Regions from separate parts of the Homo sapiens genome. Here region 1 is linked to region 2. The links are contacts of gene promoters, found by promoter capture Hi-C in human tissues and cell types (Jung and others, 2019). All regions are on one chromosome and are shown on one strand. The core of a region is centred on a gene start or on the middle of the fragment in contact, and the rest is flanking DNA. Distances in the headings are between cores, read along the strand shown.

The links. Contacts are between HindIII fragments. The study calls those that stand out against the background at their distance.
Region 1: a fragment that was not itself captured here is called in contact with the fragment with the promoter of FBXO43 in region 2 in 1 of the 25 tissues and cell types used here (dorsolateral prefrontal cortex).

What each region holds. Positions count from the first base shown.
Region 1 is chr8:100,795,731-100,799,643 of GRCh38, reverse strand. No RefSeq gene overlaps it. Among named protein-coding and RNA genes, the nearest start is that of PABPC1, 76 kb to the right of the region's middle. The HindIII fragment of the contact is 5,520 bases long and covers 1-3,913 here.
Region 2 is chr8:100,144,473-100,148,219 of GRCh38, reverse strand. FBXO43 (F-box protein 43) reads left to right here and starts at 2,403. Exons shown (of 5, transcript NM_001029860.4): 1 at 2,403-3,169. The coding sequence starts at 3,085. RefSeq lists a silencer at 2,220-2,679. The HindIII fragment of the contact is 9,588 bases long and covers 1-3,747 here.

The DNA.
Region 1 (3,913 bases), core at 1,390-3,889, 650 kb before region 2:
AGAAAGAAAGAACCCTGTTGGTATTTCACTGGCTTGAGTTGTAAAGAAGAAAGGGAAGGCCAGACACACCAGAGCATGTGTAATTTAAACAAACACAACTCTTAAGTAAATTAGCTAGGAGAATGGATTGTTGCAGATTTCTTTATTGGGTTAGGAAGTACTTGTTTTCACTGAAGGCTATTCTTTTGAAGAAAAAAAGAACTTTGAGTTAAAATTTATTAGTCTCCTTTGATCTCTGTAATTAGGAGATTTGACCCAAGCATTCATCAGTTTTTAATGAAAATCAGCTACTTTCCACGGTTTGTTTTCTTATAACTTGAAGAACAAAAGAGTGTTTTTCGTAAGATCATCAGGGGTGAGACAGGATTTTGTAAGAAGAGAGATGACTGTGGAAAAACAAAATTTTAAAAGGGAACAGATCCACTTTGTATTGTTTTTCTTTTCCCCATCCTCAGATGCTACCAAATAACCTAACAATACCGGCAATTGCTCTGTCCCACCAAAATTTGGATGTTTCAAAATTGCCTTCAGAAGAACAATCTACTTAATTGAAAAACTGTAGAGACAAAGTCAACCAAGTGCCTGTCAATGGATCCCAGTCTCTGAACTCATTATCCAGAACCTGTAGCCAGTAACAGTCACTTAGCCCAGGCCCAGACCAGCTGAACTGCAGAGATGCAAGTGCCAAAAAGCCAATCTCTCCCTGCTTTTCTCATCTGCCTCCCAGAATCTGATGTCTTGCTGAGTAGCTGGCCAGGTGTCCCCATTCTTAGTGACTTGGAGGAGGTGGGAGACTTGGCAAAGCAGCAGGAATACACACACACCCCTCACCTCTGTCCTCTGCAATCCCCTGAAAAACAGGCTCGTCTGCTTTAACTGGAATCACAAACTTTTAAGTTCTAGAATGAAGTAGCAGATGTTTATGTGAAACGATCCTATTTCTCTAATATTCACTCAGCAAGTAGTTGTCAAGATGGGGTTTACATATTGAAATCCATGGATGGGAGGATTGGCAAGAACTTTGAACAATGGGGTCAATGAGATGCTGAGGAGAAGCCCTGCCTAGGGGAAGAAAATGAGGCGATGGGGACACCAGTGGCTCCTGGCACCTGGATGAACGGAAACCAGAGGCTTCAAATACATTAACCAGAGCAGAAATGGAACCAAACAAGAAAACACATGAAGGTGGAAAGAACAGAAAGGGACAAACTATTTTCTTAGTGAAAATGGGAAAGTTACACACCTCCTCCTCCCAAACATGATGATGTTCTGTTTTGTTAACCTCTTTGAGAAGGTGACTGGATACAGAAATATGGTCTAGCCTATCAATTTATGAGAAACATTTATTAATCATTCCCAGTGAAAATGTATTTGGATGTCAGCTTTAAGTGGATCCTCATGAAGAAATAAAGTCAATGAAGTCCGAAAACTTTTATCTACTTTGGAAGGATGAGGAGGGTGGATTGCTTGAGCCCAGCATTTTGAGACCAGCCTGGGCAACATGGCAAAACCCCATCTCTAAAAAAATTACCTGGGTGTGGTCACGCACACCTGTAGTCCCAGCTACCTGGGAGGCTGAGATGGGAAGATCACCTGAGCCCAGGAGGTCAAGGTTGCAGTGAGCCATGATCATGCCACTGCAATCCAGCCTGGGCAACAGAGTGAGACCCTGTCTCCAAAAAAACAACTACAACAACAAAAACAAACAAACAAAAACAAACCTCCAAAACCCCCACCTCCAAATACTTTTATCTCCTGCCATGTGAAGCTTTAAAGTTAAAACAGAGGTTAAAAAAAAAAAGTGCTGGGGTACAAGCACATCAAACCAGCTCCAAACCCTGGCTCCACCACTTAGTGGTATGACCTTGGATAAGTTCCTTGATGTCTCTAAATCTCAGTTTTCTCATCTATACAGTGGGAAAAATAATATTCCAGATCCATAATCCCTTATCAGCAATTCAGAAATCCAGTAGGCTCTGAAAAACAGCTTTTTTTTTAAGTTAGCAGGAAATTCATTTGATGGTAAAACCTGACCTGAAAGATTATGAGACTTTATATAATATAGTTTTTATTTATCCCATTAAGCATGATTATCCATATGTCAGCTGCAGAAATATCGATGTCTAATGATGGATGTCACCCCAGACCTTGCTGGGAGGTGTTATGAAAAATACAGTACAGGCACAGATTTGCCCCTTAAAAACATGAACGCTTCGGAATTCTGAAACATACCTGAATCTGAACGGAACCAGGTAAGGGATTGGGACCTATACCTTGCGGGTAGTTGGAAATATGGTGAGATAATGTGTGTGAAGTGCTTGTCGCAATGCCTGGCACTTTGTAAGTGCTCAGGAAATAGAAACAATAATTTATTATTTTAAAGCACTCAAATGAATGATTCTTGTCTTGTTCTTTTCACTGTGGAATTTGCCCAGGAAACCACAAACTCTGAAGCTCTGACTCCCCTTTCAGTGTCGCCCCAAGAGCCCACACTTTTGAAGGAATAACCTCCCTGGTGAGATGCACCATGTCCCTGAGGGTGTGGTGGAGTTGTGACCCAGACCCTAAAGCCAAGGAAAAATCTCTGAACATACAACATTCAACAAGGACAAGGACAGGGAATGAAAGAAGTTCTGACGTTGGACAGACACAATTCCAAAAGTGGCATGGCTTGATGGATGAAGGCTCAACTTTGGGGCTGGAGAGACCTCGGTCCTAACTCTGTGCCATCCATGGTGGTGGAAATCCCTGAGTCTCAGTTTCTTCATGTGTAAAATGGGATAATAATACTTACCTAAAACATTTGTCATGGGATAGTAATACTTACCTAAAGCACTTTGTATGGGGCCTGGTACACAGAACATGCTCGAAAGTGAAGGCAGACAGAAACATGAACATTCCACGTATGCTGAGTGACACAGAAACCCAAGCCCGAGGTTACTACCAAACACAGTTCCGCTTTGCCCTAAATTGGCCAAAGCTCCCTCGAGGAAAGGCTAAAGCCTTAGCTTGCCTGCAAAAGCTGAGGAGGAGAAGCCAAGCAGAAGGGGCTCACTGTCTACGAAGACTTACAAACCCACGGTGGCAGGAATGGAGCCTGGGTCCTTCTCTCCCAAGAAGGTAGGCACCCTCAGCTTGCTTTGGGGACCTCTGATTCAATAGGACAGGTAGACATAATGTCAGGTGGGGGGTTACAAGGTGGTTTATGGATACATAGAGAGTCAATAAGGCTCATTCACACCCTGAATCCAGTTTTTGGCTGGATTACCAAGTCCCAGTTTGACTCTTACCCTTATAAAAGGAATAATGTTAAGGTGTACTTAGGAGGAGAAGGAGTTGTTTTCTGCGATTCAGAGTGAATCCTTTCATAAGGGAGACCTTTCACCCGAATTATTACTTTGTCCTCACATGCCCGAATCCGCACTTAAAATGAAAAGTCAACAGCTATTCATTCCTGAGGATGGCCTTGAGCTTACGCTAGCAAGTGCCTTGTTTTCTATAGTTGGAGACGCTGACCTACATAATCACCTTTTCTCCAGACCTGAGCCCTGGGACTTGAGAAACACCAAGTGTAAGACATCATCAACCCCCAGGTGTTCTGAAGCCCCACTCCTTTTCTCTTTCTTGACCATTGTGGCTGAATGTGAATCCCCACCTTTCCTGCCCTCCTGGGGACCTTAGGAATTCTGCTCCTCACTGCAGGTGAGTCACATCAGTATCTAGAACACACATTGCCATTGCCTGCCCCATCCTAGCACAGAGACTTCCCAGCCATCCTTCAATGCCAGCTCTCCGTGAACTTACCCCCATCTCTTCACAGCAGAATGGCTCAACAGGCAGGCCCACTCCATGGTTAGGTCACCAACCATGCTGGGTAACAGAAGAAGAGGCAGAGAATGAACATGGGAGAGAG
Region 2 (3,747 bases), core at 1,154-3,653:
AAAATATCTCAAGAAAAATAAATTAACTGGAGAAAAAAGAAAAGGGCAATGTTTAAATGGTTTTGGGGTTATGTGGATTCTACTTAACCATTGGCAAAATTCCCTGCCCTGTTTACATTGGGATGGAGATGGGGAGCAGACATTAAACAAAAATGAGTAGATAATATGGGATTTTAGAAGGTAGTAAACTACACAGAGAAAATTCAGTAGAATTCTGCAGGAGAATTGCAAATGTGGGGCAGGAAAGGGTAAAATGGCTGTAATAGAGATTTGTTTGAAGAGCTAGAGAGGGTACTATTCACTCTACCAGGGAGTGTGGGGGTAGGCTTCAGAGAGGTGCTGTCTTGAAGAATGTGTAATTCATTAATTCTTTACAGTCCTACAGGTACCTCAAACTTAACAACCTCACACTAAATGCATCTTATTTTCTCCCAAGCCTATACTCTTCATTCCCTCACTCCTTGCCCCATGCAGTTGATTCTGCCAACTGAACATGTCACATCTTGGTTCTGCTCCACCCCCCACTGCCTTCTGGAGAAATGCAGTAGCTTCCTACTGGTCTCCTAGCAGCCACCCTTGCCTCTCTTCATTCTGTCCTCCATTCTGCCACCAGAGTGGACTTTCTAAAATGCTCTTCAAACTCTGAAGGTGCAACCAGAACTTCCCAAGACTTAGCTTCTTCACTTCTCAGGAATTTTCTCTAATCCTTTCCTCTAACAACTCTTAGTTTCTGCCTATAACAAATTATTTGCAGCTTCTCCATGTGCCCAACTGCTCTTGCACATTTTGTTTTGAGTTTGAAATTTTCCTGCCCTTATACATTTTAAGTTTGGAATTTCCTGCTGTCTGCCTTTTAAATTGCCACTTGTACATCAAAATCTATCTCATGCACTCTGTTCTCCAGTAGAGTTAGCTGGTTCTTCTTTCCTTTGTGCTGCTACTGTTCCTCTGTTACAGCACTTGCTCTATACCAATGAGCTCCTTAACAGCAGTAACTGTGGCTGTGTCAGCTCTGTATTCCCAGTACCTAGCACAGTAATTGGCACATAGTTGGAATTTAATAACTGTTAGTGGACGGGCACAGTGGCTCATGCCTGTAATCTCAGCACTTTGGGAGGCTGAGGCAGGTGGATCACCTGAGGTCAGGAGTTCGAGACCAGCCTGGCCAACCTGGCAAAACTCCGTCTCTACTGAAAATACAAAAATTAGCTAGGCGTGGTGGCGGGTGCCTGTCATCCCAGCTACTCGGGAGGCTGAGGCAGGAGAATCGTTTGAACCTGGGAGGTGGAGGTTGCAGTGAGCCAAGATTGCACCACGGCACTCCAGCGTGCGTGACAGAGCGAGACCCTGTCTCATAATAATTTTAGTGAGTTTGGTTTTGGATGACTGAGGGACATCCAGTTGGAGAAATGTCCAGTCAGAGAAGAGTGGTGGTAGTGCCTGTTATTGGCTTAAAAGTGATGGTTGAAGTTCTGAATAAGAATTACATAAGCATGGGATGATAAACTAATAAAAATGCTGAGGTAGGACCTCTCATTTAGGGAGTAGGCCAAGGAAAAGAAGCCAGAAAAAGGAGACTAGGAAGAAGCTGCCAAGAGCAGCAGGAGTGTCCCTGGCATATAATAGACGCCCAGTAAATATTTATTGAATGAAAAAATTAGGGTTTAAAAAATTTATTTGGCTTTGAGGGTACTTGGGAGTTCATGATGCCCAAAAATGGATGTTTGTAAACAATGAACACATTTCACTCTGGTTTTTATGAATAGATTTTTTAAAAATCTTTTTTTTGAGATGGGGGTCTCACTATGTTGCCCAGGCTGGTCTCAAATTCCTTGGCTCAAGTGATCCTCCCACCTCTGTGCTGGGATTACAGATGTGAGCCACCAGGCCCGGCTCAGCTTTTTTATCACAAAATCTGTATATATTCATTGTTGAAACATGAGAAGAAAACACAGATAAAAAGAACTAAAAAGCAAACATAATCCTGTACAAATTTACCGTATCCAAGTTATTCATACCTTTCAGACCTCATCCTGTGTATATCCATATTTTTAACCTAAAAGGGGTCAGTTTGTAACTTGCTTTTTGCACTTGACAGTTTGGAGAATCATTTCCAAGGGAACATTCTCATACATGATTTCTAATGGCATCCCACTGTAGGCCACGTTAGCATTCCTAAATACGGTAATGCTTCCCAAAGTGGGAATGGGGAGAAGCAGAGCCTTTCTGACCCGCCTCGGGACGGGTGCAGGGGTGAGCGAGAGAGGGGGCGCTCCTCCCGCTCAAGCGAGGACCCAGGCCTGCGGGCGGCCGGGCGGGAGCGCTGCAGAGCCGGAGGAAGGGGCGGGACAGCGCGGCGCGGGGCGGGGCTGCGCTTAGCGGTTACCCCGGGCGGGCCGTTCAAACCTAAGGAGGTAAAGGCAGCGGCCCCACGCGAAGCTGGCGTGGGGGTTGCCATAGCCCGCATCCCAGGGGGCGAGGCCGAGGCTTCTCCCCGGCCCATCCAGCGGCTGCTGCCCGGCTCCTCTCCCACCTGTCCGCTTCGGCGCCTCGCCCGGCCCCGCGGCCTCCAGGCAGGCGGCGGGACCCCAGGCGAGTGCCCGTTAGCGGGTCTCCCGGCGGCCCGGCCCCGCGTCGCCCTGTGTCTTCCAGGTGCTGGGCCTAGGGAGGCGCGCGGCAGCCCTCACTCCTCCGCTCCTGGTGACGCCAGCCCATCCCCTGCTGCCCTTGGCTTTCTGGGCCTAGCGGATCTTTGACGCCCTGGTGAGACCGTTACCCACCCGCCCGCCATAGCTCCTCGGGGGAGTCAGTGCCAGGCTGCAGCACACGCTGCCTTTTCAGGAACCCGAATTTGGGAAGTTTACTCATGTCTAAGTCCAGCTGGAGAAAACAAGGATATTAAGATAACTATTTTCTGGAGGGCTGAAGGAAATTCAAAATGATTTAGACCTTCTCAAGTGTTAGGAATAATCCCTGCGGCATGCACCCTGTGTACCCTTCGACTTTGAGCAATCATGATGCTGCTGCACCTTTCAATTAATTGTGCAAACTAAAGTTTTCCTCTTTAAGTGGCATTATTTTGGCATGAGTTTTAAAGACAAAGATGAGAGAATTTCTTGTTTGGAAGCCTACGTAACTTTGACATCTAAGAGCTCAAGATTTACTGATGGTAAGAGTTTCCACTTTAACAAATGAAGAACATTTGGGTTTAATGTAAGTACTTCATTCTCTGATGTGGTAGGTGCTTTTTCTTTTTTTTCTTTTTCTTTTTTCTTTCTTTTTTTTTTTTTGAGACGGAGTCGCTCTGTCGCCCAGGCTGGAGTGCAGTGGCGCGATCTCGGCTCACTGCAAGCTCCACCTCCCGGGTTCACGCCATTCTCCTGCCTCAGCCTCCCGAGTAGCTGGGACTACAGGCGCCCGCCACCACGCCCGGATAATTTTTTTGTATTTTTAGTGGAGACGGGGTTTCACCGTGTTAGCCAGGTTGGTCTCGCTCTCCTGACCTCGTGATCCGCCCGCCCCGGCCTCCCAAAGTGCTGGGATTACGGGCGTGAGCCACCGCGCCCGGCCGCTGCTTTTTTTTTTTTTTTTCTTAAAGAACACTTTAGGAATAAGTTTTCTCAGCCTTTTATCAGAAGCCTAGTTTTTAAAAATGAATATCGAAGAGGCTTGATTGATTTATCCGTGAACTGTTGAGTCCATAAAATACAACAGACAGTCCATGATTTTACATGAATAATTTTAAAA